Linked DNA regions of Homo sapiens: regions 2, 3, 4, 5 and 6 are each linked to region 1. Evidence: promoter capture Hi-C in 16 types of primary human blood cells and fetal thymus (Javierre and others, 2016). All regions are on one chromosome and are shown on one strand. Each heading gives the region's core, a stretch centred on a gene start or on the middle of the fragment in contact. The rest is flanking DNA. Distances are from core to core; before and after follow the strand shown.

What was found. The method cuts DNA at HindIII sites, captures the fragments that hold promoters and counts their contacts. A CHiCAGO score of 5 or more calls a contact.
Region 2: the fragment with the promoter of GSTK1 here is called in contact with the fragment with the promoter of TAS2R60 in region 1 in 14 of 17 cell types (neutrophils, monocytes, M0 macrophages and 11 more); the score reaches 25.7 in neutrophils.
Region 3: a fragment that was not itself captured here is called in contact with the fragment with the promoter of TAS2R60 in region 1 in 6 of 17 cell types (M0 macrophages, M1 macrophages, non-activated CD4 T cells and 3 more); the score reaches 7.6 in M0 macrophages.
Region 4: a contact is called between the fragment with the promoter of TMEM139 here and the fragment with the promoter of TAS2R60 in region 1, in 4 of 17 cell types (monocytes, neutrophils, M2 macrophages and 1 more). The highest score is 6.1, in monocytes.
Region 5: a fragment that was not itself captured here is called in contact with the fragment with the promoter of TAS2R60 in region 1 in 4 of 17 cell types (M1 macrophages, M0 macrophages, endothelial precursors and 1 more); the score reaches 10.0 in M1 macrophages.
Region 6: a contact is called between a fragment that was not itself captured here and the fragment with the promoter of TAS2R60 in region 1, in 1 of 17 cell types (neutrophils). The highest score is 6.7, in neutrophils.

The regions. Positions count from the first base shown.
Region 1 is chr7:143,442,159-143,446,625 of GRCh38, reverse strand. It overlaps TAS2R60 (taste 2 receptor member 60), which reads right to left and starts at 3,173. Exons shown (of 1, transcript NM_177437.1): 1 at 2,217-3,173. The coding sequence starts at 3,173. The coding sequence ends at 2,217. The region is part of intron 2 of EPHA1-AS1 (EPHA1 antisense RNA 1); the gene reads right to left. The HindIII fragment of the contact is 8,585 bases long and covers 1-4,467 here.
Region 2 is chr7:143,261,277-143,265,633 of GRCh38, reverse strand. GSTK1 (glutathione S-transferase kappa 1) reads right to left here and starts at 2,193. Exons shown (of 8, transcript NM_015917.3): 1 at 2,049-2,193; 2 at 1,467-1,548; 3 at 958-1,086; 4 at 542-642; 5 at 338-373. The coding sequence starts at 2,120. All of the region lies in intron 2 of TMEM139-AS1 (TMEM139 antisense RNA 1), which reads left to right. It overlaps LOC105375546 (a long non-coding RNA gene), which reads right to left. Exons shown (of 3, transcript XR_007060569.1): 3 at 2,427-2,486. RefSeq lists enhancers at 1,946-2,165, 1,984-2,278 and a silencer at 2,306-2,375. The HindIII fragment of the contact is 19,965 bases long and covers 1-4,357 here.
Region 3 is chr7:143,221,250-143,225,225 of GRCh38, reverse strand. TAS2R40 (taste 2 receptor member 40) reads right to left here and starts at 3,189. Exons shown (of 1, transcript NM_176882.2): 1 at 2,147-3,189. The coding sequence starts at 3,147. The coding sequence ends at 2,176. The HindIII fragment of the contact is 1,727 bases long and covers 959-2,685 here.
Region 4 is chr7:143,281,742-143,286,207 of GRCh38, reverse strand. It overlaps TMEM139 (transmembrane protein 139), which reads right to left and starts at 1,250. Exons shown (of 3, transcript NM_001282876.2): 1 at 763-1,250; 2 at 6-267. The coding sequence starts at 250. It overlaps TMEM139-AS1 (TMEM139 antisense RNA 1), which reads left to right. Exons shown (of 3, transcript NR_133932.1): 1 at 1-231; 2 at 370-490. RefSeq lists an enhancer at 25-1,224. The HindIII fragment of the contact is 11,639 bases long and covers 1-4,466 here.
Region 5 is chr7:143,242,706-143,246,719 of GRCh38, reverse strand. It overlaps LOC105375546 (a long non-coding RNA gene), which reads right to left. Exons shown (of 3, transcript XR_007060569.1): 2 at 2,444-2,603. Among named protein-coding and RNA genes, the nearest start is that of GSTK1, 19 kb to the left of the region's middle. The HindIII fragment of the contact is 1,078 bases long and covers 1,349-2,426 here.
Region 6 is chr7:143,202,283-143,206,190 of GRCh38, reverse strand. LOC124901764 (a long non-coding RNA gene) reads left to right here. Exons shown (of 2, transcript XR_007060567.1): 1 at 1-3,015; 2 at 3,764-3,908. Among named protein-coding and RNA genes, the nearest start is that of TAS2R40, 18 kb to the left of the region's middle. The HindIII fragment of the contact is 1,499 bases long and covers 1,382-2,880 here.

The sequences.
Region 1 (4,467 bases), core at 1,924-4,423:
TTCGGGTGATATACCTTCAGGAGATTAATCTGGAAATGATAGTTCTGACTGCGGTGGTAGTGAACCATGAAATGAAGCAAGTAGTGAAGAAGAAATCTCAGCAGTGCAGGTGGGAGAGGAAGATAGTCTAATCTCAACAAGGATCAGGAATGGGAAGAAGGAGACAGATGATGGGGACATCACAGGGGTAAAATTTGAAAATGGTTACCTATTAGGTACAAGGGCTCAGTAGAGAGAAGGGGGTGAAAATTAACTCAGAAGTTGATAGCCTGATTTATTGAATAGCTGTAATAGATGAATGGATTCATCTGAGCAGGGGACGGGCTGGTGGGAAGAGGAGGGAGGGAAAAGTAGAGGAGGAGGAGGAGGAAATAAAGAAGAAGGAAATACTTTGAACTTGCTAAATTTGCTCATGGTACTATCAGGTGGTAATGTCCAATTAGTGGAAGAAAATATAGGATTGGAGTTTAGAGAAAGGTCAAGGCTTTGGTAATTATCAACATGAAGGGCATAATTGAAGCTATGTGAGTAGATTTAAACACAAAGGAAAGAGATCAGATATCATCTCAAAGGAAGAAGAGGGCTGGCTAAGGACAGAACCAAGAGGCAGGAGGATGAGTGGTTAGTGAAGGGGACACAAAAAGAAGCGATGGGAACTGGAAGAAGATCCTAGCATCCGTCGCCAAGAGAACAACTTTTAGAAAGATGCGCAGATGGGCAATTATGGGTGAGGTTTAGTTTCCCTTTTAAAAAAATCTTTCACCAAGATCAGCAGTACTTTTGTAAAAATATTTTTCATCAGTTTATTTTAAGGAAATCATTTGTTATCAACAGAGGCAAATACAACAGAGACATGGGAGGATAAGGGCTGGGGACAATATCACATTTAGTGACAAAGAGATCGTGTGTGTCCCTGTAGAAACAAACATGTTTCAGCAGAACAGGGAAGCAGGAGAGGATTGGAAGGCACACGGGAAGACCCTGCAAGTGACTCATTGGCAGCACAGGGGTACAGGGAGGGGGAGGAGCGAGACAGATAAGGGGATTGTTTTCAGGAAAAAAGTTTAGAGGCACATTTGTTGAAGAAGGGAAGGACAATAAAGAGGGAAAGTTGGAAGATTTGTGTAGAAGTAGAAATCCTTGACCTAGCAGCAGAGAGAAAACAGGCAGGAGCAGGGCTAGGATCACAGATGTCAGCCTTGAAAAGCCAAAAACAGAGACCAGTCCTCTAATGTAGAGTGTGGTGGAGGTAAAAACCAGGAAAGGAGGCGGAGAGATTTTAAAGTGAATGGAGGAAACTTGAGGGTTGTCTCGTTTGAATGATTCAGGGAGTAACTGAACTTAAAGAACGTTTGAGAGGAGCTGGGAAAAGCAGAAAGGCAGTCTGAACATGGTTCACCAAACACAAAGGCTTTTTCTTCTTAAATCTTAGGTCTTAGACAGATACAGATAAACTTCCCCATGTCAGTAGGGGAATTACAATAGGTCCCAATATCAATCAAAAGAAGTTACATCTGAACCCACAGACCTTAACAAATACAGAGGAGACTAACAGGCTGGGCTATTATAGAGAACATGAACCACATACAAATCATAGACCCCTGGCACTCAGAGGGATCTCCAAAGGTCATCGGAGAATACACACATCCCTGGCAACACACACTGCCACACACATGCACCAATTACACTATGCTCTGTGTAGAAGGTTTAGACACCAGAAACTCTTCCATGGAAAGAAGGAGAGAGGCACCACATTAGATGGCCAGAAAACTTTGAATTGATGAGAAGGGAAAGGTGGTTCACAGGACAAAGCCTGAGAAAACTGCAGTTCCAAAAACATGCCCCAGTTCGATTGAACAGATAAAATATTGCATGAAGTTTGAGGATCTTTGCATCCAGTTCCCAGAATGATTATTTTAAATACGAAGAGATCGATCACAGGAAAAATAAAGGCTTCTGGATTCTTTGACCACATCAGGTCCCACAGGAACCATGGCCACATGAACTATGCACTTGGTGAGTACATAACATGACACTAGCCCATATTTCAGGACCTTTACTCTCACCTTGTATCCTATTTCATTGAAGTTATTTTTCTAATCATTAACTGTAGCAACAGAGAGAAAACATTCAATGTGGCAAAGAGAGAAGCTATGTCCCTTTGAGTCCATGCCTTCTCCACAAGAATCTCCTTGAAGTTTTTCATCAGCTGTGGCTCAAGGTGTCCCACACCTTGAGGAACGACGACTCTTCAGCACAGCTCTCAGCCTGCAGTTGCTGAAGAGCAGAATGATGGGGTGAACTGCTGCACACAGATAAATCACTGACTCCCACACCCAGAATTTAAAGTCCAGAGGTGGAAAAATACCTGCAGCACTGAACACCAGTGACAGGAAATATGAGATGAAGAGCATGGCAAAAGAGAGGAGAGCCAGCAGAGCCTTTATGTGTGCCTGCACACTGGGCTCTCGGAATCCTGAGGTTGTAAGGAGAGCCTTCTTCCTGTGTCTTCCCAGAGATGTGATGAGCAAAATCATGCAAATGAAAAAGACAGCAGTGGGCATTGTCCAAGTAATCATTTTTAGAGGGAAGAGATAGAATTTCTCACAGTAGCTCCGTATGCTATCGCCAGTGACATTCCAAGGTTGTAGATGGTTCCTTAAATAGTTCTGATACATTCTGTGGTTGCCTATGAAAAATAGAATGGTGGTGAAGCTGGAGAGCCCTACAGAGCTGAAGAGCATCCATGGTAGCCACCCAGACAACTTGTGCTTTAGCCAGAAGAAGACAGGGTGGGTGAAGGTAGCAATTTTCACACAATAGAAGACACTGAGCCAGGTAGAGGACCATAAGGTGGCAGCATTCAGGAAGTCCCACTGGAAAGCTAGAAACTGCAGTACAGGGTTGTATGGGAAGGCCATCGGATGCAAGAAAACATAAATGGTCTTACCCATTACCACTGACTGCAGACAGAAGCGAGAGGCCCCTAGGCTAACCAATAACTTATCACAAGGCAACAACATTCTCCGTAGCACCCACTCCACGCCCAGAGCAGCAGTGATGAAGCCATTGCCTGCTATTGCTACCAGGCGTAAAAGGAGTAAAATGGTAACCAAGATGATGGCCTTCTTGTCAGTCACCGAAGATCCTAGAACCATGTGGTCTCCATTCATCTCTCTGGTGGACAAGATGGGTCCCAAAACTTCAAGGGCTATCTCTGTTGGGTTGCTCTGGAAGGTCCTGTAGGATATGTTTGTCCCTCCAGCTGCCCCAAGCGCAGAAGCTAGGCCAGAGTAGAGGACGCAGGCTATCAGAGGAGGGTGAGAGGTTTTTTCTTCTCAGAGTAGATGCAAATATTGTCAAGGCTCAATTTTCAAAGTCCCCATACCTGCCCAAAAATTTGCCTGCTCTTCTGCCTATTCTCTGCCCATGTCAACATCAAAGTGGATAATATATCAGGCCCTGGCATTTAGTGTCCTTACACAGGAGGTTATACTTCTCTAAGCGGACACCTATGACAGGACCATGCACCTGCCAGCTCAGTAGTATCATCCGTGGGGCACACCCGCTACTGAGACAGCGCTCACATCCACGGGGGGGGGGTGATTGTTATGTTGCAGGCATTGTTCTGAGTGCTCTCCTTAGTTCTCACAACAACTCTATGCGGGGAGTAGTATGGCAAGACCCCTTTAACTGAGACAGAGAGAAAACTGAGCAAACCTTTACAGAGAAGGATTAATTCAAGTCTTATTACTCACAGTGACCATCATCATAAAAAAAGAACACTGGAGACAATTATACATAATGAGGCAGGCAACTTTTTTCAAAATTTAAAAATATATATTTGATAACTGGTGGCCTCTAAAATAGCACTTCACAGAGGAACCCCCAGTAGCGATAAGCCAATGGGATATGGCAGAATGAGCCCTGTGCTAGGAGTCGAGACAGCCTTTAGTCCAAACTTTACCCCTTACTGTGAGTTGCTGGATATGTCAGCCCCTCTGCGCCTCATTTTGTCCATCTGTAAAATATGAAAAGTATCCTATGTTCTAATTCACAAAGATGTCTTAGAATCTCGGCTTAGAATGAAAGAAGACATGAAAGATAATCTTACAGATAAAAGAAATAAGACCCCAAATTATATATTACAACTCCCACCTAAAGTCACAGTTACACAGAGGAAAGACCAAGATCCAAACTGATTCCAGGACCAGGAATCTCTGCCATGGTTAGCAATACATGTTACACCTCCATCTTCTTCATCCCTAGCTGAACTCAGAAGCCCAAGTTTTGAGTCTTGTCACAATCACTACGGATCCTCAAGCAGTTAACCTCTCTGAACACCCCCCTTTCTTCACCTATAAAAAATATGGGTCACAAATAAATATGACCATAAATATGGTAAATATATTGGAAATTATAAACCTCTGCATATGGACAAGGAGCAATGATGATGATGACAATTAC
Region 2 (4,357 bases), core at 944-3,443, 180 kb after region 1:
TTTGTGTTGGAGTTTGTGGAGACTTGTGAATACTATATCCCTCCCCATCCAGGGGTTCCAACACTGAGCATCTTTCTCTCACTGACATCTTTCAGCAAATAAATTCTTCCCATATATTGTCCCTTTTGCACTTCCCCTTTCAACCTTGAGATATCCTTTTGAGGATCCTTAGTTCCAACTTTTCAGTAGTTTGTGCCCTGAATCACAGACATCCTTTCTTCCCCAGTAATTATAACCTTTTCCATGCAATAAGAGACCTATTGTCTTCTTTACCCCCAAACGCCAACTGTTCTCAGATTCTCTATGAGTGCAGTTGGGGTGGAGCCAGGACACTCACCGCCAGGATGCTCTGCGGCTCGGTGATGTCTTCATTCTGGGAAGAAGAGAAGACAGCAGGAAGGCGGTGCGGGGAGAGGGGTGTGACTGGGAGGACAGTAGATCCCCCGGGCGGGGGCAGGATCATGACCCTGAAAACGTGCCTGGGGAAGGTCAGAAAGTCATCCAAGGTCCTCCCAGAGGATTCCCAGAGCCCCACACTCACCCTTGACCAGACGCGCATCCACAGCTCCCGGGACGCTTTCTCCAGCATCTCTGGATGCTCCAAGTTCACGGCGGTGAGGAAACGCATGGCAGACAAACTTCCTGTGGGGCAGAGGCACCCAGAGGCAGGGCTCCTCTTGCTGCTTTCCTGGTGGAGGACTAGCTCTTCCTTGCTTCTGACATCCCCCAGAGCTCCTCCGCCCTCAGCCTCTCACCCAAGGTTCCCATGACCTATTTGCCTGCTCTTCTTCCCTTTCATGCCCGGCAACCTTCAGCTCGCTCAAGGCTGATCCTGAGGTTTCCCAAGGCAGGCTTCACTTGCTTTAGTCTCCCGCAGCCCCTCCATCCTATCAATCCCTCAATCTCCGACTTCTGTGTTTTTCACTGGATACCCTGTCTACATCCCACTCTCTTCACCTTTTTCAAGCATCACAGACAAGAAATCCTTGGGGAAGTGGATGGGAATCTGGAGATGGTGTCTCAGGAGCTTTAAGTCATTTGCCATGTATAGTCCTTTGCGGGGAAGCAGACCTGGAGGCTTGTTTCCTGCCAGGAGAAGGTTGGGCACGCTAAGTGAGAAAAGACCTAAGGGTCCCAGGTTTGGGGACCTCGACGTGGGTTTTGGGCAGAGGGCAGCTTCCTTTTTTTTCTCTTGTTGTTTCGCTCTTGTTGCCCAGGCTGGAGTGCAATGGTGCGATCTCAGCTCACCGCAACCTCCGCCTCCTGGGTTCAAGCGATTCTCCCGCCTCAGCCTCCCGAGTAGCTGTGGTATACAGGCATGCACTACCACGCCCGGCTAATTTTGTATTTTTAGTAGAGACGGGGCAGAGGGCAGCTTTCTGGCTGCCAGTGCCAATATAAGGACCCGCTGGGGTCGGCTCTCTTGGGCCACTGAGATCACCCCTGCCCCGACCCTCCCTTCCTACCACTGTCTTTCATGATCCCTGTTATGAGGCTGGGCCGCAACTGCAGGTTGATGTTCCAGATATTCTGATACCGGCACAGGATCTGCGGGCAGAGGTCAAGAACGATTGCCAGTGTGCAAGATGGAAAAGTGAAAGAGCCGAGGGAAAGGGAAGGGAGGCGCTAAGTGCAGAGCAGGGGTTATGCGGACACCCTACATTGTTTGGTTTGAAATTGGCAAAACTCTCCTCACTACTAGAAATCTATTCCAGGATCTTCGCTCCTGTGGCCAGTTTTCCCCAAAACTGCCATCGTTGGGCTAAGAGGTGGCCGTGTTCTGCATTTCTCCCTGAATGTTTGGAGCCGCCCCTCTTTCCACCACCGTGGGAAACTGCAGTCGGGATATAAAGGCTCGGGTTGGAGCCAGCGACTCTATTCCGTTTAAAAGCACAAAGTGACCTTCAGCCCCGGAGCTCTCCCTGCTTGCCTTAACCCCTTGGGCGGCGCCAGGAGTTACACGAGACCTCTGTCCCGGAGCCCTGCGCTCACTCTTCCCTCCGCCCTCACTCCCCAGACACTGCCGAGGCGACCCCTCCCAGCGTCACCTCGAAGCCCAGCCAGGAGTAGGGGGACAGCACGTCATAGAAGAGCTCCACGGTGCGCGGCAGGGGCCCCATGCTGCAGGCTCCGGAAGAGCAGTGGCAGCAGGAGCTCCTTTTCCCGGAACCCGGCAGAGGCTGCCCAGCTTCTGGGCCTGCCTGGGACCGCCCACCGCCTTAGCGCGCAGCCTCAGAGAGAAACTGCCCTGGTAGAGGTCCACCTCCGGCGCAGCGGGGCAGGGCCAGCCTACGGCCCCCAGCCAGGGGCGGGGTGGGTAGGGACCCCTTGGGGAGCGCGCAGGTGTGGACAAGGGGCGCTGCAATCGCCTTTGCAAAAATTTTAACAGTGAGAAAATTACGAAGGTGAAACAGATCTGAACTCACCAACTCCATCGTGCCTTTAACCTCCAAACTGCCCTTGGTCATTCCTGAGCATGGGACGAGCTAATATAGGGAGAAATTTAGTTTATAGTTTAAATGATAATAGCCCTTCCCCAAACTAAACCAGTTTTATAAAACTAATAAAAGTCCACAAGTTTAGGATTATGAGAGGGGCCTGAATTCTGCTAAGATGTAGGCATTAACAATTACCAGACATTGTTCCAGAGGTCACAAGCTCTGCAACTTCCCCAATTATTCCTGTAAATAACCACTTTTGTAGAACCTAAGACTGGCCTTTGAAGATACCTTCTCAGACTTTTCCATTTCTAATGACAGGATGACTCCACCTGGACCAGTGACTCCTCTGTGGCCCGCATCCAAATGCAACTCGGTGCACTGAGGACGGTTTTCCACACCCCTGTGATTGCATCCCCAACCAATTAGCAGCACCCATTCTCTAGCCCCTTGCCCATCAAACTATCATTAAAAAACTCTAGCCGGCGGGCATGGTGGCTCACGCCTGTAATCCCAGCACTTTGGGAGGCTGAGGTGGGTGGATCACTTGAGGTCAGGAGTTCAAGACCACTCTGGCCCACATGGTGAAACCCTGTCTCTACTAAAAATGCAAAAATTAGCCGGGCATGGTGGCATGTGCCTGTAATCCCAGTTACTCGGGGGGCTGAGTCAGGAGAATTGCTTGAATCCGGGAGGCAGAGGTTGCAGTGAGCCGAGATCATGCCACTGCACTCCAGCCTGGGTGACATAGCAAGACTCCCTCTCAAAAGAAAAACAAAAACAAAAACAAAAAAACCCACAAAGTCCCCTAGCCTCTGCCTCCGAATTTTGGGAGGCTAATTTGAGTAATAATAAAACTCTGGTCTCCTGTTTAGCTGGCTCTATGTGTATTAAACTCTTTCTCTATTGCAATTCCCTTGTCTTGATAAATTAGCCCCATCTGGGTAATGGGCAAGATGAACCCATTGGGCTGGTGTCAGGGTGACTGTCCTGCTCTGCAGTGGAGTCTTGTGGGAAGGGGGTAGTTTGAGATGCCTGCAGTGCCTTTCACTTAGCTGTGCCCCTTGGGTGAGCCACTTGACCTCTCTGAACCTATTTCCTCATCCTGCATACACATGGGGAATATCTAATGATAACACCTGCCTTATGACGAGTTGTGAGGAATGAGGTACTCCAATAACTGCTAGCTCTTATTATTGTTGCTTGGCAGTTGCATGAATCTCCTAAACTGGGGCAGAATAAGAAGTTCTCAGAGTACACATTTTCTTGTGTTACCTTTGTCAGAGATTTGCACAATGTCTGGGACACATTTGACCATCGATACATATATTTTGAGTGAGTGAAAAAAAAGAGGGACTGGTAGAAGATGGAGAGGCCTCACTATAGATAATTTTGGTGATAATGGAAACGATTGGCCCTATTCGTTTTCACAAATATGTGAGTCATATTGTCTTATATTGGGATTACATTTACTGCAAAGAAACAGAATTTTAAAATAATTCCATTTAACTTTGTTAAAATTATTTTTAACATTACTAATTTAATAAATTGGAAAACATATAAAGATTCCACTTTTCATTTGTATCAATAAGGAAAACAACTCCAGGCTATCAGAATACAGAGATACGAGGTAAACCCCTACATGGAGAAGAGCATGCAAAATGGAATGAAAAATGATGTTATCATTACCTACTTGCAGAGTAAACTAATTGTTCAACAACCACTGAAACTAAACTTTTTTTTTTTTTGAGATGGAGTCTTGTTCTGTTGCCCAGGCTGGAGTGCAGTAGCACAATTGCAGCTCACTGCAACCTCTGCCTCCTGGGTTCAAGCAATTCTCTCTGCCTCAGCCTCCCAAGTAGCTGGGATTACAGGTGCCCACCACCACGCCCAGCTAATTTTTTGTGTGTTTTTGGTAG
Region 3 (3,976 bases), core at 573-3,072, 220 kb after region 1:
ATGCTAGATGAATATTCAGAGTGACTTTGTGGGTAAAGGAATCCTTCACTCTATCACTTTCAACATCCCGCAGGGCTGTGGGGCGAGGGAGATGATGTAGAGTTTGCAAGGTGAAAACCTGTAATAATATTGAGACCACAGCAAGCCGGGCTTTGCATTTGGTTACAGACTTTTGTCCAGCAGAGTCGATTATTGTCTTCATTTAGGACTTCTGATTGCTGTCTAAAGCCAGACAACTTGAAGACTAGGTATTCTGGGTCTTTCTGAGTGCTTACTTGGGTTTTACATACAGAAGAAAGAGAATTGGAGAGAATTTTATCTCGTTGAAGGCAGGCCAACATGTGCATCGATAAGGATGTTATCATCCTTGGAGCTTTTGTTAGCTATGTGCTGCCTTAGGCTCTTGCTAGCAATGAGATGATATTTCTTCATAGTAAGTATGGAGTTATCCACTTTGTGGTCTTGACATGGTTCATGTTAATATAATGGCAACTTTAAATCAATTTTCTCTCTAACTCTGTAATGCATCAGAGAACCCTTAGTGGGTACATGACCCTTTTATCAATATATATAACTTGGAAGAAAATGTATATTTCTCTATTCTAGGGACTGGAATAAAACTTCAATATCTAATTTGTCTTACTATAACAAATACCGCCTGAAATAGTCATATAAATAACTATAGCTTAAGAAAACTATCAAAAATGTGTGTTTTATTAATATTTTACTTTTCAGGTAAATAAGTCCCAAGCTGTCTGAGCTATAAAGGAATCTGTGTGTGTGTGTGTGTGTGTGTGTGTGTGTATGCCATGTGTCTGTGTGTATGCCGTGTGTGTGTGTGGTTTTTGCAGTTTATGGATGTAAGGAACTCTCTCTGAAATGTGTGCTTGAGAGCGCTGGAGCTCAGAACTAGACTTTGCTACTGACCTCATATTTTCATTTGGGGGCTACCTAAGCTTGGTATGATCCACAGCATTCTTTTTTCATTTTCCTCAATAATCATGATTTAAAACTTACCTAATAAAAGACAACTTCAGATTCCTAACGTTCAAGCTCTAAGATATCTGGGGAGAGGGTGTCCAATGTTTTGTGAACAGCTCTTTGAGACAATGCTGCTGGAACCATCCTGAACAATGACAATGGAGAATAATGTTTTTCCTCTTCTCCAGCAGCCTGCCCCAAGTAACCCGCTCTTGCCCCACTATTTACTTCAAGGTAACCCAGAACTGGTAAAACCAGAGGCACAGGTGCCGCTAGCATTGCCACAGAGTCAGGAGCTGAGCAAAACAGACGCTTACTTACTCTGGCCTCTTCCTTTTCTCTTTCTGCTTCCTGCCCACTTCACTCTTTTCCCTGCATTCTTTCTTTCCTCTCTGCTCACTTTGTCCCCTCCCATTTGGAGAAATAAAGCATTGAACTGACCCTTCACATATCCATCTGCCGTTCTATAACTCATCTTTATCTGCAAACATCCTCTCTAGACTATTGGTTTTTACCCATCCCCTCCCTTTTGGCATTATCTTCTGGAACTCCTGGGATCAGGATGTCACCCTATCACTCCACTAATGGCACACATGGCATCCTTTTAGTCAAATCCAGAGCCTTTTTCTTCACCCTTTACTTTCCTCGGAACTCTGCAGCACTTGATAATTTCCAGCAGCCTTTCTTTCCTGAATCTTCTTTTTCTGTAGCCACTCTGGTTTCCCTTCTACCCCGTGGACTGAGTGCTGTGCTCTGCTTCACCAGCCCTAACTGTGTGTTAGTTGGGTGTCTTAAGTAGGATGATCATGTAATTCTTCATCCAGACCATGATATTCTTGAGAATTAAAGGATGCTCAATTGACAACAGACAATAAACAGAGATTGTCCCTGGCAAACCGATATGTCTGGCCACCCTCTCCTTAAGGCTCAGGAGGAGAAGAAAGTGGAGAGATCTCAGGGCAGGATATGAATGAACATAGTTCAAGGAGCTTTCAAAGTCCATCTTCAGGTTTCTTAGTTACTTCTGTTTAGAATCTCAAGTTAAAAATTCAGCTTCATATTTATAAAAGGATCACGTTATCTGAGAAGTGTCAGAGCAGGTTTGGGAGAGAAGAGACGGGTGAGGAGAGAGTTCTACCTGAGGCAAAGGCAGAAGTGGTTGGACCAGGTCCCGCAGAACTCCGTGAGTTCCAGTCACAGAGTCTGCCCTTTTAGGTAAAGAGGAACTTGGTGCTGAAACCGCTTCCAGGCTCTTCTCAGCCCAGGGTTGCCCAAGATCAGTTGTACTGAGTGGCCGGCAGGGTAGGCAGCCATGATGATCTTGCACAAAATATTCCAGGAACTGTAAGTGTCAAAGATGTTGGACGTGGAAAGAAATAGAGCAATTGCATTGAAAATGTAGAGGATGAGAAAGTAGCTGGTGGCTTTGATGGCCCCTATGTGAGCCTTCATGCTGGGGTCCCTGGACCCTGTGGCATTGCTTCCCATGTGTAGGGTGTGTCTCTTGAGAGAGAGGATCAGCAGGGTGGCTGCCAGGATGAACATGATCAGAGGAACGAAGATCCCCATGTTATAGAAAAATACCAGGTTGACCATATTGGTCTCAGAGAAGTACTTCTTCTCCGTGGAGTTGGAGGAGGGGATAGGAATGGAGCTATTCACATACACATTGAAGACATCTCTCGAGAGAGGAAAGCTGAAGCTTAAGGAAACCAACACTGACAGCCTGAGAAGCCAAGGCATCAGCACTATGATTTTCCTCTTCATCAGGAAGAACAAAGGATGATTGAAGTTTGCAATTCTAAGACAATAGAAGACTTTGAGCCAGGCAGCAAACCAGAGATTGGAATGGTTCAGAAAGACAGTGATGACTTTGAAGAGGATATACACTGAGTTTTGGTTATAAACAATTCGGAATAGCAGACTGAAAATGTTCTCCAGCATCATCCAAATCTGTAGCAAGAGCCTGGAAAAGCTCAGCATCAACATAATGCGGTCACCAGTGGGGAGTGTTTTGCCCCTGGCCCACTCAGCCCCATAGATGGCCGTGATGAAGCCACTCCCAAGGATGCCAGTGATGCACTCTATTCCGGAGACCACCAAAGTGAAGGTGACCTTGAACTTGGATATGTCTTTATCTGTGGCATCTGTGTTCACCGTTGCCATTCTCTTTGATCCTGACTTTCAGGTTTCTGCGCCAAGAATGGGTAACTGCTCTGCAATCTTCTGACCCTTGCTCAATGTTATAATTTCTGCCGCCCTCATTAATGGTTATTTCCAATTTTTCTCCATTTGTTTATCACATGACTACAAGTTAGAGGCTTCACATGCAAATAATGAGAGGATCTGGTTACTGGGTCTGTCTCAATTTTTCATAAAGATACATTTGTCTTGGGCTTTCAGAAGCTCACTGGAAATAATTTGAGACATGTTTCTAGCTCAACACCTTCTTACCTTATTTACTTTAAGTCCACATTTACCTGATAAGCAATGAATACAAGGCCTTTTTACTTGTCTCACAAGATCTCTGTTACCTGCTAAATTATTTGTAAAAGCTCATACAGCTTTTAAAATCTGTTTTCCCCACTTCTTTTCTTGTCTCTCTTATTTTGGGAGAGAGTTTTATTTTGATAGTTACCATGTTTGTGAATAAGAAATTCCCATAAGCTCATATATGAACATCTTTTACTTAGAATTGAGTTTCTTCCAAAAAGGCCTGCTATTATAATGTCCTCGAATAGTATATAGAAAAGCCAAAATTGGATGCTATTCGAGTTGGAGAGAAGGAAGTCTCCATAGTCCCAGTTTTTATTGTTTGTGTATGTGTCATCAATTTCAGCTTACTGAGATCCCACATGACTATTTGAGCTCAGAATCAGGTAGAATGAGCCTGGGGAGAATTCAGTGTTCTGGACATGGTGTTGAAGTTTGGAAATGTGATAAGGTACTATGACTTGAAATTTAATTTCCTACTTTTTAACCCTGGCTGTGAACC
Region 4 (4,466 bases), core at 1-2,500, 160 kb after region 1:
CTCACCGTGCATTGCCTGAGGGCCCTGGGCTCTCAGTCTGCATTGATTGGAGCTGGGACCGAAGCCCCCATTCCAGAAACCGGACCAGGAGATAGGCAAACAAGAAGAAGCCACCCAATGTGAGAAAGAAATAAGCAACGGGGGTGATGTCCGTCTTTATGCCCAGCAAAGCCAGCCCCAGTAGGAAGGAGGCGCAGCACAGGAGGAGAAGCGGCTTCTCCAGTCTCCCCAGTAAGTGCATTGGCACCATGGCCCCTCCCCAGGCTCCTGCAAAAAGACACACAGCTATTGTGTCTACACTAGCAATTGGTGTCATGGCTGTGTCAGATACCAAAGTAACCATATGATATTTCTTTGTTTGGTTTCTAGGTTCTTCAATCTCAAATAAATCATCTGTAGAGTCCCCTCCAGTTCCGAAATTCTCTCTATGTCTTGGAGTGTGTGGAATAGCCAGGAAACCAGCCCAGGAGCTTTGACTCCCAGCCATTCTGTAAGTTGACTGTGTCATGGCTCTGCCTTCTTTCCTTTCTCCTTCCCTGTAGTCTCCCTTCCAGCTTTGTCCCTTACCACCATCCAGGATCCGGTCCTGGGCACGCCCTGCCTGGGGCTTCAGTGCACACTGGCATCTCTGGAATTCAGGTGATGGGGCAGGCCCTGCCCTTCCTCTGTTATTGCTCCTACTGGATCTCCACCCCCACCTCCCCAGCCAGAGGCCCTCAATCCAGCCCCGTTAGAGAGAAGAGGGGAGGGAGCCCCACTTACCCTGTCTGACTCTGTCTTTTCCTTTCCTCCGGTGTTAGCCCATGCTCCAGGTGGAGGGAGAAAGTGCACACAGGCGCACCAAAGCCACAGGGACACAACTGCTTGAGAAACAATTGTACAGGCAAAGGCCCAGCACAATGGCCGGAGGCCCTGATAACTCCTGTCCTCTTCTAGACCCCACATCTGCCAGGGCCCTCCTCTACCCTCTGCTGATCCTAACTTGTTAAACTCAGTTTGCAAATTTCCTGCCAGGAGGTAGCCCAGTGGCTGGGAGGCGGTGGGCAGGGGAACTCTTTTCTTTCCTTGTAACAGCAACAACCCGAGGCAGCCCATACCCCAGAAACAGCCTGTCAGAAGTTGCCAGCGCTCTGTGTAGCAAGGAATTGCAGATTCCCTCCTCACACCTCGGTCCCAATCCCATGACCCTCCCGACCCTCGCACCCACACCTGTCTCAGAAGTTCGTCGCTCACCTGTCTCCACAGACTGTAGAAAGTAGATGGGGTGGGGGGTGGTGGGAAGGGCCGGAGCGGGTAGGTGGAGCCCACTGGCCCCACCCTCTTTTTCTGTCCCAATCCCTGTTCTGGCCCAGTCAGTCTCCGCCCCTTTTCTCCCTAAGGCTGACTTCCAACTGCTGAACCTTGATTTGTTCTGGTTTTTACTCTCTCCACCCACCCATGCTGTACCCTAATGAGAGTGCACCCCTGACTCCCAATGATCTTTGTACTTAGGACCGGAGTTAGCATTAACCTTTCCCTCTCGGCGCATATTGTATGTTAATTACAGCCCTGGGCAGTTTGCCTTCTATTTGGGTAATTTACCTTGTGCGTCTCTCCCAAGTGACTGGAAGCGGAGACCTCGGCTTATTTAATCTCTGTAGATCATCACACAGTGCACTGCACACAGAAAGTAATGCTGTGGGCATGGAATGGTGTGTCCTGCTTCCATTACCCAAGTGCTATTTTTATGGACTCCCTGTATTCTGCAGACCTGTCAGAAGTGTTAGTGTGTATATTTCTTGACCCAGTTAACTCTTGAGTCTTCAAGATCCTCCTCCGAGGTGATGCTGCTTTGGAGCCTGCTCCAGTGTATCCACATCGTTCCTTCCTAAATTTGTCCCAGCATTTACCTGGTTATGTAGCATTTTTCTGCTTACTGATTTTCCTTCCACTGTGAGTTTCTCAAGGTGCGTGATTAGTTTTAATCATCTCTGAATCCTGGAAACTAACATGGTTCCTGAAACGTGGTAGGTCACTAACTAGAAGGCTCCCCTCTCACCAGGCCTCACCACACCTGTGAAGATCAAAGAGCTGTTCTTTTTAGTTGTGGGTCAGGCAGTTAAGTCGGAGTAGGGTAGGTGCTTGGAGGTAGAGAGTGAGTAGAAGCATACTTGGTCCTTGAGCCAGAGGGTGAACAAAACTGGGCCCCGTTCCTTCAGAGGGTGACCAGCAGACAGACCGAGGGAAGCTGCAGACCGTGGGCACAAATCCAATCCAGGCTCCCCAGGGACAGCTGGGGTGGGGAAGCATAGGAGAGGGTGTGTGTGTGTGTGTGTGTGTGAGAGAGAGAGAGAGAGAGTATGGGAATGAGAATAACTGTGTCTGTAGTGGTAATAAGTGTGGGCACTGGTGGGATATTGAAGATTCTCTGTCCCAGAGCCCCAGATCGATAGCAGAGAGAGGAAGGAGACATTAACAGGAAGGCTGTGGGAGTCTAAATGAGGTGTGTCTCTATGCAAAGTAGGCACAGGAGTGAGGGGGGCTGATTGTTGTTCTGTTTCAGCCAATTTCCTCACTGTTCTGCTCATAAGGGGAAAGTACAGCTGGAATCAGGACTGCAGTCTACAGTTAACATATGAATAGAAGGAAATTGGCCAAGGGTCATTGGTGTGTGTGATAGGAAAGGGGGTTTGTTAAGGAGTGAGTTGTGGGAATGGGAAGGTGTAGGCTAAGAGGCACGGGGCCAAAAGGTATGGGCCTGAGGTGTAAGGGGAGAGTCTGGGAGAGGCGGACCTTTGTAGCTTAAGTCTCTTGGTTGCCGGAAGGAGAGTACGATAGACAAGAACTGGATCCCAACTGGAGAGGCTAGACTGGTGGCTGGCTGTGCCCGTTCATACATTCTCAATTCCAGTAATGTAAAATCAATTTTTAAAAATTGCATTTGTTAAAAGAAAAAACATGACAATATTTAAAAGCTAAAGAAAAAAAAATTGTCTATCTTCTCATTATCCTAACACGGCCATTTAAAACGTTTATATATTTCTTCCAGACTGTCCACATGCAAACCAGAATATACTAACCACTTTGTATCTTTAAAAAGTTTTATACTTTATATTGTATATATTTCACCCTGATAAAGACCTTATTGTAGTAATTTCAAACAGCCATGTAATATTTCATTGAATCGATATGCCATAATTTGATTAATATACCCTCATGATACGTTGCTCAATAACACTGAGCCTATTTCACTCAATATTTTTGGCCATTAAAATAATGCAGGTTGCCGGGCGCGGTGGCTCACGCCTGTAATCCCAGTACTTTGGGAGGCCGAGGCGGACTATCGCGAGGTCAGGAGTTCGAGACCAGCCTGGCCAACATGATGAAACCCCATCTCTACTAAAAATACAAAAAGGAGCTGGGCATGGAGGTGTGTGCCTGTAATCCCAGCTACTCGGGCGGCTGAGGCAGGAGAATTGCTTGAACTGGGACCCGGGAGGCGAAGGTTGTGGTGAACCGAGGTTGCGCCATTGCACTCCAGCCTGGGCAACAAGAGTGAAACTCTGTCTCAAAAAATAAAATAATTAAAAAATAATAATAATAATAATGCAGGCTGGGCGCAGTGGCTCATGCCTGTAATCCCAACACTTTGGGAGGCTGAGGTGGGCGGATTGCTTGAGCACAGGAGTTTGAGACCAGCCTGGGCAACATGACGAAACCATGTCTCTCCAAAAAAAAAAAAATACAAAAATTAGCTGGGTATGGTGGCGCACGCCTATAGTTCCAGCTACTCAGGAGGCTGAAGTGGGAGGACCGCTTGAGCCCTGGAGGTTGAGGCTGCAGTGAGCTGTGATCATGCCACAAAAAAATACAAAAATTAGCTGGAGGTGGCGGCACACGCCTATAGTTCCAGGTACACAGGAGGCTGAGGTGGGTGGATTGCTTGAGTCATGGAGGTCGAGGCTTCAGTGAGCCGTGATCATGCCATTGCATTCCAGCCTGTCTGCATTCCAGACCCTGTCTCAAAAATTAATATAATAATAATAATAATAATAATAATAATAATACAAGAGACAGAAAGTAGATTAGAATTTGCTAGGGGTGGGGAGGCAGAGGAAGAAATGGAGAGTAACTGCAAATGAGTTTCATATTGGGGTGGTGAAAATTTCTAAAATTATATAATGGTGATGCTTGCACAACTCTGAATAATTCTTTAAAAAACCCCACTGCATTGTACACTTTAAAAGGATGAATTATACCTTTGTCAATCAAGGAAAATGACTGAGGCAAGTCTCAATTATTTTAGGAGATTTGCCAAAGTTAAGGAAGGGCACCCGGGAGACAAGTCTATGCCTTTTTTTAAAGATGATTTTGGTGGCTTCAATATTTAATGCCTTTGTCTGGCTCAGTGAATCTGCATTTTTACATAAGATAATGTAGATAATAGGGCAGAGGAAACAATCAGATATGCATTTGTCTCAGTGGGC
Region 5 (4,014 bases), core at 638-3,137, 200 kb after region 1:
GAAGGGAAGGGATATGGAAATATTTTCAGAGACTCTTCTTTTTTTAAAAGAATTTGAAAGGATAGTGAGAACAATCCTTAAATTCATGTCAGAAAAGAGGATTCATTTGTTCATTAATTCACACGTTTATTCATTTCACTAGTGCAGGATTTCTTAACCTCAGCATATTGACACATTGGAATGGATAATTATTGGTTGTGGGGGCTGTTGTGTTTATTGTAAAAATGTTTTTGTAACATTTCTGGCCTCTACCCACTGGATGCCACTAGGTGCCCAGGTGTGACCACCAAATATTATGCTAAATGAAAGAAGATGGATGCAAAGTACTATGTGTTATACAATTTCATTTGCATAACATTTTCAGAATAGACAGGAAGCAAATCAGTGGTTTCTCCTAAGGCTGGCAGTGAGAGTGGGGATTGACTGAACATTGGCATGAGGGAACTTTTAAGGTGACAAAATTGCCAAGTGTTTCCTGGTGGCATCAAAATCACCCTGGTTGCAAACCTGCACTGGTGTCTATTGAGTGTCTCCTCTGCCTCATGCACTGTTCTGAGTGCTTGGGGTTATAAGCACTCCATCTGATGTGGGAGTCAAAAGGCAAAACATCAATTGGCAAATTCAATACAAAGTGTGTTTTGTGTGTGCGTGTGTGTGTGTGTGTTGAGGGAAGGAGTGTTAAGGATGTTGAGAAAGAATCAGGGAATGCTTCTCAGAGGAAGTAACCCTAAATGAAGACTTGAACTGTAGGTAGGAAGTAAGTAGACCGTGGATAGCACTGTAGTCAGGGTTGCAATTATAGAATACAATAGACTGCATAGCTTATAAACAGCAGACATTTATTTCTGGTAGGTCTGGAGGCTGGGAAGTCCAAGATCAAGGAGCTGGCAGATATGGTGTCTGATGAGGGCTCACTTTCTGGCTCACAAATGGCCATCTCCTCCCTGTGTCCTCATGTGGTAGAAAGGACAGGGAACTCTCTGGGTCCCTTTCATAAGGCCACCCACCCGATTTATGAGGGCTCCACCCTCATGACCTAATCATTTTCCAAAGCCCCCACTTCCTAATACCATCACCTTGGGGGTTAGGATTCTAACCTATGAGTTTTGTGGGGACACACACATTCAGCCAATAGCAGAGAGGAAGAGCAGATAGATATTCCATACAGAGCCAGCAACATTATGGAAAAGCCCATTGTCTGGAGTCTTGAGGAACTGAGAGAAATTCTCTTTAGCTGAAGGATTTGAAGGAGGGCAATGGTGAGAGATGAGGCTGGAGCTACGGCAGGTAGAGGCAAGGCAAAGTCATGTGACAAGATTTACAATCTCTCCTGGAATAACCTCAAGCTTAGTGTGATCTTAAAAACGTATTTTATAGAAAAGAAGTAATTTCATTGCCTAAGTACTCAGAATTGCTTCCTGTTGGTGTAGAAAAACATACAGGAACTGTTAGTAATTTACTCTTGCGATGAATCACACAGCCACATTTATTTTTATTGTTTGGCAAACACACATGTAGCTTACTACATCAGTCACTCTTCTAAGTACTTTATAAATATTAACTAATTTAATCCTTTTAACAACCCTACAAGGTAAGTACCATTTTTTAGCAACTTGATATATTTGCCATAAAGATCACCCATTGTAAGTGTACCATTCAATAGTTTTTAGTATATTTATACAGTTGTGCAACCATCACTACAATTCAGCCTTAGAATGTTTTCATCATCTCAAAGTCTTTTCTTTTTTTCTTTGGTGCTTGCTACTTTGTAGTCAATCCTGGTTGAGAACCTGCACTCAATCCCACTCCCACCCCCTAAGAAACCACGGATCTTCTTTTTGTCTTTATAGATTTGTCCTTTCTGGAAATTTCATATAAATGGAATCATGCAATACGTAGTTTTTTTTTTTGCATCTGACTTTTTTCTACTTAGCATAATGTTCTTGAAGTTCATCTATGCTGTAGCATGTATTTATAGTTTTAAACATTTTATTGCTGAATAGTATTCCATTGTATGGATGTAACACATTGTTGATGGTCATTTGGATTGTTTCAGGTTGTTGTCCATTATGAATAGTGCTGCTGTAAATATTTGCATTCAAGTCTTGGCATAGACATGTGTGTTCTTTTGGATAGATACCTAGGAGTGGAATTACTAGGTCTAATGGTAAGTCTATGTTTAACTTTTTAAGAAATGGACAAACTGTTCTTCAAAGTGGCTATTTAGGTAGATACTATCATCATCATTTCCCTTTTATTGAAGGTGAAACTTCTACAGTGTCATAAAGCCTGTGAATGGTGGCAGTAGGAATTGAACTTATGCCATTCACCACGAACCTCTGTGACCTTAACACTAAACTTTGATGGCTACTTCCTTTGTTTAAACTGTCATCAGTTTCAAAAAAAGATAATAAATAAATAAAGCTTGCCTTCTTTCCCTTACCTGATCTTGGTTTCAAAACTGCTAGAGAATACGTTGTCTAGTTCTGTCCATGGAATTATGCCTGCGGGAATTTCCGTGATGTTCTTTTCCTTCTTTGCTTCTAAGATGATTCCCTAGGCAAATCTCAGGCCACTCAAGTATTTTCATTTTCACGTCCTTTCTGTGAGAAACATGAACAAACCTAGGGAGTGTTTTGAAAATGAGATTTTTAAACTCTCCAGTGACAAAGTCCTCTTTCCTGGACCAATAACTACCTTCAAAATAACATTCTAGCTACTGACTTAGTCTGTGTGGCTGGTGGATTTCTTTTTAATACAGCAGCTGGTAGGCTACAAAGCACGTGTCAGTGACAATGCATGGGCTGCCTGTCAGGAGCTCCCGAGCCAATTGCTCAGAGGACCCTTCACCTCTGGCTGGCAATTGCTTCTTTCTGATGTTAAAGGTCACCACAGCAATCACCTACTACTGCTCTCAAGATTTGATGTGATCACAACACTCTCTGCATCTTCACTTTGCCAAGGATTACAAAAGAATGAGGCAGCCCACTGTCTAACATGTTCGGAGCAAACTAGTAAGGAGAGGCACTGTGGGGCTTTTAGGTTAACATACACATGATTGATGATATGCAGGAAGGATTGTTCTTGAAGAGATAGGAACTACCTAGAGCAAAGACTCAAGCATACTTAAGGCGACAGCAAGATTCCTCTGGGGTCTTTGAGTTCTGGTAATACATTCTTAGGGCCTGGATATTTTCTATCTAGGTGCTATTATTCTGGGAATGTAACTTGCCAAAAATCATGTAAACTAGTAAAAGGCAGAACTGCGATCTTAACCCAGCTTCCAAATCTTAAGCCCTAAACCATACTGCCTGCCAAGACTCCTATTCTCCCTAATTCCTTTGTGAGCTTCCAGGCTAAGTGTTCCACTTTTATATTCTCATGCCATCTGTGTTTTCTCTTATCATGGACCTTACCATATTACGTTGAAGTCATCAGTATCCTCCACCATGCTCTGTTTCTGCAGGGAGGAAAACGCATGTGTGTGTTTTTAACCTCGGATTCGGAGAGACTTGAGTTAATCATCAACTTTAATTTATAGCTCACTATTGTACACGAAGTCCCTCCTTCGTTTTTTTTTTTTTTTTTTGCTTTTGGATGGAGTCTCACTCTGTCGTCCAGGCTGGAGTACAATGGCGTGATCGCAGCTCACTGCAACCTCTGTCTCCCGGGTTTAAGCAATTCTCCTGCCTTCTACTCTCCTGAGTAGCTGGGATTACAGGCATCTGCCACCATGTCCAGCTAATTTTTGTATTTTTAGTAGAGACAGGGTTTCACCATGTTGGCCAGGCTGGTCTCGAACTCCTGACCTCAGGTGATCCGCCCGCCTGAGCCTCCCAAAGTGCTGGGATTACAGGCATGAGCCACCAGGCCCGGCCCCCACCTTCATTTTTTTTAAAAAAATCTAATTTTTCTCTTCACTCTTGATTCCCCATTCACATTATTATTGACAATAATAATAGGAATAACAGTGAACATTTACTGCCAGGCATTGTTTAAGCACTTTATATTAAC
Region 6 (3,908 bases), core at 882-3,381, 240 kb after region 1:
GTGGGGGACTCTGAGGCTTTGGGCTGTGGCAGGAAAGCAGGAAGTCTTCTTTGGTGCCAGATCTCTTTGGACGTTTGCGGTGGGGAGGAATGTGACTGTTCTTCCTCCGCAAGTGAGGGTAACAAATGTGACCATGATGATGGCATAGCAACTCTGTTGCTTGCCAGTCAGCTCACGGTCCCTTGTAAGGCAGATTACCTCTAAAGAGCTGCCAAATTTCCTTTCGCTGGGCGCATCAATACAACAAACGCCAGAGAACCCTGTGCCACCTTCATTTACTGTCTGCATTGGGACTACTTGCTTTATCTCCCTCCAGCAGCGAGTCCTCCCTCCTCTGTTCCTATATTTGATGCGATCAGCCTTATGTTCCATGGTCGTATTTTTTCAAAGGGAGAGAGGGTGGATCTCTACATCGTGCGATTCTCAGGAGGGATTGTGGTTGCTCTCATTTAGGGAGTGCCCTTTGTGCTGGGCTGTGGCTTGCAAATGTGTGCATTATAAGGTGCCCGGAACTTGGATGGGTATAGTGAATATTAAATGTAAAGAGTCTAGGTATATACTGGGCCTTGATCAATATTTATGGAATTCAAAATGTTTAAATACTTAACTATTTGCTTTTCTTTGTTATTATTAGTATTATTATTAGTAGTAGTATTACCACGCCTGGCTAATTTTTGTATTTTCAGTAGAGATGGGGTTTCACCATGTTGGCCAGGCTGGTCTCGAACTCCTGACCTCGTGATCCACCTGCTTCAGCCTCCAAAAGTGCTGGGATTACAGGCTTGAGCCACCATGCCCCGCCTCTTTGTTCTTAATTCTGTTTTCATTTGTTCTCTAGCCAAGACCCCAAGTCTATAATGATCAAGAGGGTTGTTTTATTTTTGACAAGTGGAAACCCACATGTTTCTGAAAAGTGGAGTGGTGGTGGTGGTGGTGGTGGTAGCATAATCTGGAAGACCCCTAAAGAAGGCAGTGCTACCTGCCATATTTGACTTGGGGGTCAGAGCGAGAGTCTGAGTTGGAGAGTTGGGAAGCTAGAAAAATGAAGGACTAAAGTAAGAGATATTCCTTATTTCTCCTTTTCCTTTTCCACATATCTTGAGAAAGAGAAAGGTTTTTAGTTCAGCAGAAAATGGGAGATGCTGGGGCAGAGATAAAAATGCTCCCCAAACATGGCAGGGACTTCCTTGTATTTCTCGTTCTCCTTGTAGTTAGGTTGAGCTAAAGGAGATGCTACTAATGAAATTTGAAATCTTAGGGTCAGACATGTGGGAATGCACTGCCTACCCTTCCATCTTGGCAGTGACACGGGCTCATTCCCCCCAGTTTCCAGAGCTGTGTCCTTTTCATTCCTCTTTCCAAATCCACCTCCACTCAAGCTTTCAATCTGTGCCTGGGCTCTGGTTTGAATGAGCCACTGATATATTTGCAGCCACCGGGGATCTGGAGTGCAGATGCAAATGGCAGTGTTCCCTGGTAAGTGTTGGTGACAATTGGATCTTTCTCTGATTTGCATTCCCAAGGCCTGCAGGTTTTCAGAAAATCACATCTTATAGGCAGTTCTGGGGAGGGGGGAGGTTTATTTTCAATGTCAGCTACAAATGCCGGCCCATGATAATTCTTAGAATGAAAGACCTCTCATTTGCAAAGGAGAGGATAGTTAGAGCCAGAACAATTCACTTAGCAAAAATTTGGGCCCAAAAATATATATATAGGAGAAGGGATTGTTGGTGGGTAGAGAGGCCTGGAGATCAAGAGCAAGAGATGAGATAAACACAAGTTTGGAAGCCATTGGCTTGTGAGGGGACCTGAGCACTTAGAATAGAGGAGACCCCTCAGGGAGAGCTTGTATGGAGAGAGAGAAAGGTGCATCCTGACCCCATCCTGGGCATTTCTCTTTGAAACTCAGCCTTGTTATAATTCATTTCTAATTCTGATATCAGCAGTGAGGGTTCATCTAATCTATTCTCATCACTTCTTGAGCCTCTCAGCTCTCACTGGTCCTGGCTCTTGCCTGGAGATGATTTTACTCAAAATTCTAGTCCAGGATTTAGAATTGGTCTAAGTACAGATGTGCATCAGGAGGCTATTTCAAAATCCCAGATGAGCTCATACATAAAGTAAGGATTAATTTTTTATTTTGTGAACCAATTGTGTAAAAAAAAAAAAAAACAACAATGCACATTAGGAAAGTAATTCATTTAATTTCCATGACCCAGCCCCTCCTGCCTACAAGCCCCCCTCCCCCATCCCATGCAATCCACCTCATAGGTAAAAACATATTCTGGGCAAACTGACTCATTTCATGTCACATTTATCCCACTCAAGTTTGTCCCTCCTGCTTTGAGCCTGGATTCCACGTAAAGGTGGAAGGTGATTTGGGCTGGTCTCCAGGCAGTCACCACCTGCAACCTATTTTCTTCTCATCACGACACCTACGTTCAGTGTCACCTTTTCTTCTCCCTTGGGCTGCCCCTTTCTTGCTCACTCCCATGTTCCAATGCCAGCAGCTCTGTCTTTGTGCTCAGCCATGCTTGTTGTTCAGCAGCATTCCTCATTAGAATCCCATTATTTGATGGTCAGAGTAGGGTCTCCATGGTGATACAGGCACAAGTGTAGCCAGTATTCTGCCACCGCATCTTACCTACTTGGCAGGCAAGCTAGAGTTGGCCTAAATTCTGCTTTTATCATTTATGTGTTTGTTCTTATGCTTTTAGGAAAAAAAAATCCTGAAATAATGGTGAAGGACAGCAAGTATTTGCCTAGAGTGCATGCTAAGAAGTCTCCATAGATGTTTTTCTTTAAGTATCCTGACCGCTTAACATATTGATGAAGACCTCTTATTTCCAGGTCAACAATCAGCTGTTACCAACTTAAGCTTTCTAAACATTTTCTGTGAAACAAATTTTTGCCAGTAAGAAAAGGAAATTGGGAGCTGCCACTGCTTAATTAATTTGAAGCTTTGATAAGCTTTGCCAGAGAGTCGCATAATAGAATTAGCAAGTTTCTTAACAGGTGAGAAAGCACATGAGCATAAACAAAAATAGGATAAGACTATCATCAATGGGGTTTATGCACCAGCTTAAAAAGCCAGTTTGGGGGACTTTTATGACTCTGAATTAAGATTTGTGCAATATAAGATTGTCCAGGATAAAATATTTTGGGCACCAAATATTAAGCTTCTGAAATAGACCCAGAGGTTCTTGTATGATAAAAAAAAAGTATGTATAAGGTTTTGATTTGATTTTTTAAATAATGTGTTCACTACTTCCCTTTCTTCTGAGACTCCATAGAGAAAAAAATATCATAACACTAAAGAGAAGGGAATGAGGATGGCCAAGAGCAGACTGGAGATTTCATCCTATTTCTTGGTTGTGGACAATCAGAAAAAGCATATTGTAGATGAAGTGGAGTAAAGGATGCTCAGAATATGCATGTCATGGGCCTCTGGGAATGTGGTGGCTGATCAGGCTGCTAGAAGCCTGGAGGGCCTTGGCTATCGGATTCCTAGCTTTGGATAGCAGGAGCGAGACATTGTGCAAAAACCAGAGGCATCATTAAAATTCTGTCTGCCATATAGCTGCATCATTGATGCTTTCCAGTGCCTTCCTTGCCACTGCATACAGAACCATCGAAAACCTTCATATTGAGAATTCTTTTCTAGAAAAATTGAATACATTTCCAAGGAAGAACTAGGGCTTCAAGTGCAGATATTTGCACATAGATTAAACCCTTTTTTTATTATGGCATTTTGAATTTCCAGGCTAATGTCAGATTCCACACCCACATACCTAAAAGAGGAGCCAGCCTGTCAAGGTGGCCCAGTTACAAAAGAGAGCTTCCAATCAGCCTTTCCATTCAGGAGACCGTTCTACTGGAGAATGATACCTGCTTACCCAAAACAGCCT